Linked DNA regions of Homo sapiens: region 1 is linked to region 2. Evidence: promoter capture Hi-C in 16 types of primary human blood cells and fetal thymus (Javierre and others, 2016). All regions are on one chromosome and are shown on one strand. The core of a region is centred on a gene start or on the middle of the fragment in contact, and the rest is flanking DNA. Distances in the headings are between cores, read along the strand shown. Region 1 has its middle 24 kb from the start of ATP2B4. Region 2 holds the start of OPTC (opticin).

Evidence for each region. Contacts are between HindIII fragments. The CHiCAGO score rates a contact against its expected background, and 5 or more counts as called.
Region 1: a fragment that was not itself captured here is called in contact with the fragment with the promoter of OPTC in region 2 in 2 of 17 cell types (M0 macrophages and M2 macrophages); the score reaches 6.9 in M0 macrophages.

What each region holds. Positions count from the first base shown.
Region 1 is chr1:203,600,449-203,605,728 of GRCh38, reverse strand. No RefSeq gene overlaps it. Among named protein-coding and RNA genes, the nearest start is that of ATP2B4, 24 kb to the left of the region's middle. RefSeq lists enhancers at 4,480-4,980, 4,981-5,280. The HindIII fragment of the contact is 2,154 bases long and covers 1,294-3,447 here.
Region 2 is chr1:203,490,813-203,495,654 of GRCh38, reverse strand. It overlaps OPTC (opticin), which reads right to left and starts at 1,502. Exons shown (of 8, transcript NM_014359.4): 1 at 1,438-1,502. PRELP (proline and arginine rich end leucine rich repeat protein) reads right to left here. Exons shown (of 3, transcript NM_002725.4): 3 at 4,303-4,842. RefSeq lists a silencer at 1,781-2,009 and an enhancer at 3,397-4,195. The HindIII fragment of the contact is 16,129 bases long and covers 1-4,842 here.

The sequences.
Region 1 (5,280 bases), core at 1,121-3,620, 110 kb before region 2:
AACTGTATCTTAAGGTTTAATCACAGTAACATGATAGCAGTACTATTGGCCTCATTTTGCAGTTGAGAAACTGGTTGCTCAGAGAGGTTGGAGTAACCTGCCCATCAGTGGCAGGGCCAGGATTGGCACCAGGTCAGCTTGATTTCAAAATGTTGTTTTGTCTTCTAGACAACAAAGCATCATTGAAGGTGTCCAAGAGGAAACTGAGAGGCCAAAGCAGCATTTTGGGAAGATTAATATGACAGCAGTGGGTGGAAGGAATGGGAGAGAAGCAATGCCGAAGCTGTGGGGATCCACTAGTAGGTTACACAACAACGTCAGCTTGAGAATCCTCCAGGAGGACAGCAGAAGCAGAAAGGAGGTGCAGCTGTGAGAGACAATGAGAAGCAGAGATTAGCAGTCCTTGGCAGCTGAGTAGTCTCAGACTTGACAAGGAAATCCTCCTTTTTCTGATTATTTAGGGTCCTGCCATATGTTGGTGGCCTATACCAGGGATAAGGCCTGTCACTTCTACTTGAGTTATGCAGGAGCAGAGAAGGCAGGGAAACACGTGTGGTGAGAGGGTGCCTTGCTCAGCTCCTCGACAGGGCTAGGGTAGGTAGTCTGCCATCCCTGGTCAAGGCCTAGGCCTTTGGAAGTTCTAGTTACCCAGCCCAGGATATAGCATCTTGTGTGTTCAATAAATGGTAATTGGTGGTGGTGAGCTCAGAAGCATCTCTAAAATAGAGAGTGAGCCATCACTGTTTACAAGCAACTCCTCTCCCCAGCTGGTGGAAGCACATGGATCTAATGACTCCTTTCCTGGTGAGGAAACCGAGGCTCAGAGGTTTCATGGCTTTCCCACGGTCTCCTGGAGAGCCAGAGGGCAGAGTTAGGGTTCAAATGCATCATTCTCAGCTCTGACCTAGAGTCCTGTTGCCTTCCCCAGCTTGTCTCTCTTTGGTGTCAGAGAAACAGGGGGAATTAATGATAAACCTTCACATGAGTAAGGCCATTTACAGTTTACAAAACTGCTTCCCATCCATTATCTCATTTGATCCTCACAACAACTGGGTATTATTATACTCATTTTGCAGATGGAGAAACTGGCTATGGTCATTCAACTGTGACTGAAAGAGCTAGAATTCAAAATGAAGTTTTCTGACTCCAGGTCTAAGCTCTTTCCTGGAGGCCATGAGAATAAGGGAGCAAATGAAAAATAGAACAGCAAAGGGGAGAAGAAGTGTTCAGGTGAGAGCAGCAAATGCAGCATAGATGGTGCTGGAGGGCTTCAAGTTAAACACAATAAAAGCTTCTGGGCAGGAAAGATTGTTCATCACAGGTACCAGCAGCTGGGGGAAGCTGGTTTATCTGGGGAATTAGCTTGGTTTTTAGTAGAGGCTGATTGGTTGAAGAGATAATCTCTAGAAAAAATATTTCCTGCTTTCTTACCCTTGGATATTTGCCGCCTTCTTACCCTTGGATCTTGTGAAGAAAAAGAAGCAGGAGAGAGAGGAAAACACTAATGTTAGCATTTGCCTTATAGATGCCCAATAAACTATATTGAGTGGATGGTTGAATGGATGGCTGGGTGGGTGGATGAATGGATGGCTGGGTGGATGGATGAATGGATGGTTGGGTGGATGAATGGATGGATGGGTGGATGAATGGATGGATGGGTGGATGGGTGGATGGATGGATGGATGGGTGGGTGGGTGGATGGATGGATGGATGGATGGATGGGTGGATGGATGGATGGGTGGGTGGGTGGATGGATGGGTGGGTGGGTGGGTGGATGGATGGGTGGGTGGGTGGGTAGATATTCAAGTGGGTGTGTGGATGGGCCATGGATGGATGGGAGAGATTTAGGGAAATTGCACATCTCCTTGGGCAACCTCATGGTCCTATTTACAACTCTTGAAGTTACTCTACCTCTGTTTCTCCCACCCTTTAACCCATCTACATTATCTGATGCTATAAATGATGTTCTTATCCCAGGAGGAAGAATTAGTGTAGCATTCAGAGAGAAGCCAGGAAGTAACTTCCTTTGTCCCAGGAAGGTGAATGGGATGGAGTATCTCTGTCCTCCAGTTCACTTGAAGTCTCTGAAGCCCTGCTCTAACCTAATAGTCAGGATTTCTGGATCCTGGGGGACCCTCCAGCTGCTCCTGTTGGAGGGGAACAGCCATCTTGTCATGGGGTGGTAGATATGGCATTTGTGGTTGGGCTCTAGAAAGACTAAGGACCCAAGGGATCGAGAACTATGCTCGCCCGAGGTCTCTTTACTCTGCAACTTCTTTGCCCGCCTTTCAGGGAAACATTGCAATGTGGCTTTCCCAAGCTAGTATGGGGTGGGGGTTGGGTAAGGCCAAAGGGTTAGAGATGATCCATACAGGGTGCACCTTTGTCCTCTACCTATGGTCAGTCCCTACTTGTCACCAGTAGAACCAGTAACTCTGGCCCTAAGGCTGCATGGCAGTCTTATACTGGAGAATTCATGGGACAGGTGTCCCGGTCCTGGGTTCTGATTCTAGCTCTGTCACTGAGTATGTCCAGTGTATAACACAGCATCTGCATGTAGTAGATGCTCACTATATATCCAATGAGAAGGCAAGGCGCAGTGACTGGCTCACGCCTGTAATCCCAGCACTTTGGGAGGCCGAGGATGACGGATCACCTGAGGTCAGGAGTTTGAGACCAGCCTGGCCAACATGGTGAAACCCCATCTCTACTAAAAATACAAAAATTAGCCAGGCATGGTGGTGGGCGCCTGTAATTCCAGCTACTTGGGAGGCTGAGGCAGGAGAATCACTTGAACCTGGGAGGCAGAGGTTGCAGTAAGCCAAGATCACACCACTGCACTCCAGCCTGGAGTCTCTCTCTCTATATGTAGACTATATATATATATATATCTTCAATGAGAGAGTGAACAAATGAATGAAATAATTAGCTGTGACCTTGGGCAGATTACTTTCCTCTTCTGGACCTTGGTCTCCATACCTGTAAAATGGGGATAATAATGCTGGCTCTGTCTCCCACTTACAGCCATCCTCAGCCTTTGGGAGTAAATGAACAGATAGATGTGAATGGTGTTTATGTATCATCCCACTCAAGGGACTACATGGTGGTTGGCATTTGCTGCCCCATGCCCCTGCACCTGCACATGCTAGCCAGGTCTGCTGCTCATCTCACGCATGCCACAGCCCACACCTCTCCAGATCCCTGCTATCCTGTCCCATGGAACTTGGTTGTCCCACATCCCCCACTTTCAGGGATCTGGCTCTGTTAACATGAAAGTGATACTATTTACCCTTTATTAACACCTATCTGTTGAGCATTTAGGTCATTATGTCCTCATAACGGTCCTCTGAGGGACTCACTGTAGTGAAGTGACCTGCCCAAGGCCACATAACACTTAAGTAGTAGAGCCAGGATTCCAGCCAGGTCTCTGAACCTGCTGCTGAAGCTTCTGGCCTTGTAGCTGTAAATTCTTGGTCTACCCAGGGCGGCAGTTTCATTCAGTGTGGTGAAGAAAGTACAACAGTCGGAGGTGCAAGACCTGCATTCAAGCTTAGGCTTGACTGCTACTAAGCTGGGTGTTGGCCGGGTGGGGTGGCTCATACCTGCAGTCCAAGCACTACAGGCCGAGGCTGGTGGATTGCTTGAGCCCAGGAGTTCATGAGACCAGCCTGGGCAACATGCCAAAACCCCATCTCCACAAAAAGTACAAAAATTAGCCAGGCATGGTGGCACATGCCTGTAGTCCCAGCTACTTGGGAGGTTGAGGTGGGAGGATCGCTTGAGCCCAGAAGGTCTAGGCTGAAGTGAGCAGAGATTGCGTCACTACACTCCAGCTTGGGCAACAGAGCTAGATCCTGTCTCAAAAAATAAAAATAAAAATGAACTGAGTGTCCTCAGCAAGTTTCATCAAAGTGCTAAATTGTGAGGATCAAAAGCAATGGTGTGTTCAAACCACTTAGTAATGTGTCCATCAAATATTGGAAATGATTTTTATAGGAGGTCTTCTAGAGGCATTGGTTTAACAGAAAGAAATGGCTATAACAGTGGGGATTACAGAGACCATAGCAGGCTGGTGAATACTTTGGGGAAAGAAGTCTTTCAAAGTTGCTTAGGTCATATGATGAATCCTGAGGGCAAACATTTGCTCCCGCTCTGGCTAGGAAGGCTCTGCCCTCAGGCTCTGGGAGTTCCTAACCAATAGCAGAGTCCTAACTCGCTGTGCCCCACAAATTGCTAGTTACCTAGGTCCCAGATTCACCTAAGATTTAACCCATAGTTCCTTTTTCTTTGGAAGAGCTTGCCCATGTCAGGGGAGAACTCTCCAATGTACCTGGAGGTCCCCTTTCTGCTTATGCTCAGCCCAGGGCCGGTGAGGCAAGGAAAGAAAATAGCTCAGTCATAAACTCATCCCAGCTGAGCCTCTTATGGAAATGCTGACAGACCCTTCAAGACTAGACGCCAGCTCCAGCAGTGGCGCCTTTCTAAAGCCCCGGCTGGGAGCTAAATATAGTGGCAGGAGGGATGGGGTGTGGACTTGGGGGATGGATGGGGAGGGGAGGGAAGAACTCTGGAGGAGAACAGGAGAGGGGAAGAGAGGAGGGGAAAAGAAAGAGAAATAAAGAAGGAGAGGGCAGGGAAGAAATTGAAGAAATGGGGAGAAAACAAGAAGAGGCTCAGAAAAGTTTTAGGGAAAGGGAGATGAAGAAGAAGGTGAGATGGAGAGCAAGCAGATGTGGCTGGACATGGGAGTGCGGCTCAGTGTTCGGGTTCCGGTTCCGTGTGGTGCAGAGAGCTAGCTGGTGGGGGCAGCCTAGAGGGGGAACAGTAGTAGTCCCAGGCTAGGCCCCTGTCTGGCTGGCCTGCAGAAAGCCCTCGGTAATTGTTTATCTGCCACAGCACTATTGGAACCAAGAGACAGCCCAATTCTCCAGACTCCAGACTCTGTTCTGCCTCCCCACATCTTCATCTGGGTGCAGGCCTGCCTCTAGCTGTCCCCAAGACAGTCCATAATGCGGCCTAGGGTCCTTCCAGTTAGCCTGGGGCCTCTGGTGGGGGTGAGGTGGATCTTTGTGTAATGGAGGCAGGGCTGTGGGGGCGGGGTGGCCTGCCTTTCAGTGAGGGTGGGAGTGTGGTACTGCATAGTGAGAGTGCAGCCTCAGACGTGCTTGAAAGAAACCTGCTTCCTCAGGCTGAGGGGGCAATGGGCAGGTTAGAGCACTGAGGTGGAAACAGGTCAGGAAGTGAGACCCAGCTGAACTGAATCAGACTCCTAGTGTCAGA
Region 2 (4,842 bases), core at 253-2,752:
CACACACTGGTGCATGCACACAGATGTCCTCTCTTAAACAACCCCATGCTCAGAACATGACTGCTAGTCACTAAGCTCGATTTAGAGAATGTCAACATCAAATAATCTTATGGGGTCTTTTTGTTTGTTTGTTTTTTTGAGACGAAGTTTCATTCTTGTTTCCCGGGCTGGAGTGCAGTGGTGCGATCTTGGCTCACTGCAACCTCCGCCTTCTGGGTTCAAGCGAATCTCCTGCCTCAGCCTCCTGAGTAGCTGGGATTACAGGCACCCACCATGCCTGGCTAATTTTTGTATTTTTAGTAGAGAAGGGGTTTCACCATATTGGCCAGGCTGGTGTCGAACTCCTGACCTTAGGTGATCCACCCACCCTGGCTTCCCAAAGTGCTGGAATTACAGGTGTGAGCCACCGCGCCCAGTTGACTCTTGTGGTTTTTTATAAAGATCATCCATTCATGCATTTGCTCAACAAACATTTATGGGTGTCTATTGAGTTCCAGGCACAGGACTTGTCTCTGTGGGTACAGAATGAATGAGGCACAGCCCTTCCTAGGAGCACCTAGTCTCTTTAGGAGACATGGACTTACAATGAAACATACAATGTAAAAAAGAATGTTAGTTTATGAAATATACTTCTAAATGCAGCTTTTTAGAAACAGATTATTACAGATAAAAGAGTTCTTTGTGTGTGATTGCATGAGTGTGTACGCATCTGGAAATTTCCTTAGATACCTGTGTATATTTGTGTGTGTGTGCACACAGATGCCTGCGTATGTATGTGATATGCATGTGAGTACAAATGTTCATGTAGTTCGTATATGTATAGACGGGTCAGGAAATGCATGTGGTGTGGTTTTGTATCCAGGCATAAGTGTATACAACAGTCATACCCAGTGTAGGCTTAACACAGCCCTCCCCAAAGCTAGCTGCACAAGTTTCTAGTAGACTCTCCCTCTTTCTTTCTTTTAAAATTTTTTTTATCTTTTAATTTTTATTTTATTTTCTATTTTTAAGACGGTGTCACTCTGTTGCCCAGCCTGGAGTGTTATGGCATGATCTCAGCTCACTGAAGCCTTAACCTCCTGGGCTCAGGCAGTCCTCCTGCCTCAGCCTCCCAAGTAGCTGGGACTACAGGCGTGTGTTACCATGCCCAGTTAACCTCCCCACCCTTTCTTAATTTTAGCTGGGCAAGGGGGCAAGCCTCTAGCAGTAGCAAGAGGTGTTTCTTCACCTTACCTCCCATACCTCACCCCAAACGAATTACATAATCTCAAAAAAAATTTTTCTAAGAGAGTTTAGTGCCCACCCAAAAGTCTTGTCCAACTTCTTTGGCCAGAGGCCTAAACTCTCTTCATTTTCCCTTCCCAATCCCCTGCCCCAGCCAAACACTTTGCCCTCATTTGCGCACCGATGGCCAGAGGCCTCAACCTTGAGCCTTACCCCTTCAATGCTTCTGGATCCTGGATGGAGAGCCCTGCAGCTTCCAGAAAGGTGGGGACTCTGGTGGAGGCTGTCTGAACTGGGGCTTGGGTTAGACAGTGGTGCCCGGGGGAGGGCAAGGAGTTGGCCAGGCCTGCGACCAATCAGACTTCTCATTCCTTCTGATGTCCAGCTGTTTCCCCTCCTCTTTCCTCAGGGGGTCCCCTGCCCCATTCCTGTATTTGACAAAAGAGAATTCTCCCCCCACCTTCCGCTTCACCCCCCACCTCCAGCTCCTGCTCTCTCTCCTCTTACTCTGTCAGCTCCTTCTTTCTTTTCCTTGTCCACTCTCCTGATAAGGCCACATCTTTGAGGAACAGGGAGTGCCATCCCCTGCAAGGAAGGGGCCCCATCCCTCAGATTCTGAGTCCTCAGAGAAGGCTGGAGTCGGGGGATATGGAGAGATAGAGCTTGTCTTTGCAGCTTCTTTCTCCAGCCAGAGAGTGACAAGGCTTCAGCTTCATAGCCAGAATCCAAAGATAAAAATAGGTGGAAATGAGGCACTTCACCCTCACCTAGAGCGCCAGCACAGAGACCATAATTGAATAAAATCACCAGAGACAGGAGCTGCAGGCCTAGGTAGTTCAAAGAGAAGGTGTATGGGGGATGAGATCGGATTTGAAAGCCAACTTCAAGTTCACAGATGATGATCATGAGGATACGGGAAATTCTCTAAATCTGCTAGGAGGAAACCAAATGGAAATTGGGAGGTGGGCCCTAGAAAGGATCATAAACACCAGTAGACATTGTGTAGGGTCTCGGGGGCCTGGGAAGTATCCTCTCCCGCACCCTCAGAGATGTACAGTCGTCCCTCAGTAACCATGGGGGATTGGTTCTGCACGTCCAGTGGATACCAAATCCACATATGCTGAGGTCTTTTATATAAAATGGTGAATTTGCACATAACCTACGCACATCCTCCTGTGTACTTCAAATCATCTCTAGATTACCTATAACACCAAACACAATGCTTACACCTCACTCCATTCACATGGATTCCACATAGTACTGGCACACAGCAAATTCAAGTTTTCCTTTTTGGAACGTTGTGAATTTTTTTTTTTTCTGAATATTTTCAATCTGTGGTTGGTTGAATCCACGGATGTGGAACCCACAGATACAGAGGGCCAACGGCATTCATCTGGAAACACTCCCCTTTCCTTGGTGCCTCGAGCAGGCTGCCGAGCAAGTCCTTGCTGAAGGCAGAGGTGGGGTGGCTAAGGAGTCTTCCCCAGCTTCTGCCAGCCTGTGCCCTGGCGCCCACCCAGGTTTCTCAGTGACTCTCCTTGTTCCCTACTCCTTTCCACCAACCAGATACTGAATTCCAGCTGTGAGGCCCCCTAAAGATCTAGTCCAAGTCCTTGTGGTATAGATGAGGAGAGTGAGGCCCAAAGAGGTGACGTGACTTGCCCTAGGTCACACAGAGCCAGGGCCAATGCCTAGATTTTTTGACTCCCTGGTCAGAGAGTTTTCTTTAGTTCATATGACCCTCCCCATTTCCACCTTCTTCCCCAGGAGTCCTGAATCCGTGTGTTTCCAGGCCCTCAGAGCAGATGGCTTGGCAGAACTCATCTCTGCCCTGGCACACCAGGTGAAGAGGCAGATCTAATAGCCTGGCCCTCGAGGGCAGCATTTGGCTTGCTGTGTTCCTGGGCTCCAGCTGGTGCAAGAGGGGGCTTCCCTCAGCCCAAGAGCCTGGTCACCAGAGAAGAGCATGTTCTTGTACCCCTGGCAGCCCCCCACCTGGGAAAAGACACCATCAGAGGCTCTGCTGGGTGGAGGGAAAGATAGCCCTGGATCCTGGAGGGCATCCAGTAGGCAGATGGCACATTTGGCGGGCTGTATGCCTCCATCTTCTCTCCACAGCCTGGGCTTTGCAGCCAGAGGCCCTCCACCCCCACAGCCAGCCTAGGCAATCTCCCCGCTCCCACCCCACACATTTATTCCTGGGAGAAATGCAAATGCGAGTGTTCATTCACTCTCCCTGCCGCCTGCTCCCACTCTCCCTCCCTGCTTTCCCAGAGACATACGCTCCTGCCATCCCTGCTTGGTTGCCACACCCCCACCATCGTTCCTCCCCAATGCATACACACCTGCTCCCCCCACTCCCTGCAGGAGCCACATCCAGACTCAGGCTCGCATCCTAGACCCTCTCCCAACTTCTCCTCTTGCTTTCCCAAGCTCACAGGTCACACACTCTTGTTCTCATGAATATTAGGGGCTGTCCATGGATGTGTACATGTGACCTGGTGGGGGAAACGGCTAACCCCGCAGACTGCTGTTCCAGGCAGCCCAGCTCCCCAAGAGCCTGGCAAAGGAAGCAGGAGGCGGGGGAGGCGTCCTAATCCTAATCTCTCATTAGGAGAGGCAAAAGGCGTGTTGATGAATCGGAGGCGGCAGGTGGTATGGACAGAAGTTTGACCAGCCAACCCTGTTGTTGCCCTTTTCATGGATAGGGAGAGAGAGGCGGGGAAGTTCAGGAACCCTCCTGTGTTTTGGATGACAGGGGTATATCCCCTGCTGAGGGCTTGTAGCCACATAACTCCACTCCATGACCGGAACATGACCCTCTCCTCTTTTTCAGACACACAAGCCCCACAGGGTAGACTCCACACCTTCCTACCTTTGTACTCATGCTGTTTCCTGTCCAGGTGGCGTCTTTTTTTCTTTCATCCACCTGGCAAAATCTGATTTATCCCTTAAGAGCCAGCTCACATGGTAGGAGTCTTTCTGGTTTTCCTCAGGTAGAGGTAAAAGCCCTTTCCTTTATACTGTTCATACACAGTAGTTTCACTCGTGTCTGTGTGAAGCGACCACCAAACAGGCTTTGTGTGAGCAACAAGGCTGTTTATTTCACCTGGGTGCAGGCGGGCTGAGTCCGAAAAGAGTCAGCGAAGGGAGATAGGGATGGGGCCATTTTATAAGATGTGGGTAGGTAATGGAAAATTACAGTCAAAGGGGGTTGTTCTCTGGTGGCCAGGGGTGGGGGTTGCAAGGTGTTCAGTGGGGGAGCTTTTGAGCCAGGATGAGCCAGGAGAAGGAATTTCACAAGGTAATGTCATCAGTTAAGGCAGGGACCAGCCATTTTCACTTCTTTTGTGGTGGAATATCATCAGTTAAGGTAGGAACCAGCCGTCTGGATGTGCACATGCAGGTCACAGGGGATATGATGGCTTAGCTTGGGCTCAGAGGCCTGACACACAGCATTATTACAAACACTTAGGACACAGAGGTATCCATTCATGGATTTCTTTCCCTTTACCAAGGTATGAGTTCCTCAAGGATGTGCTGCTATGTATATTATCCATCCTTGAATGCGTAGCTGGGGACCTGGCATGTGACCGATATCCACTGAACATCCGTGAA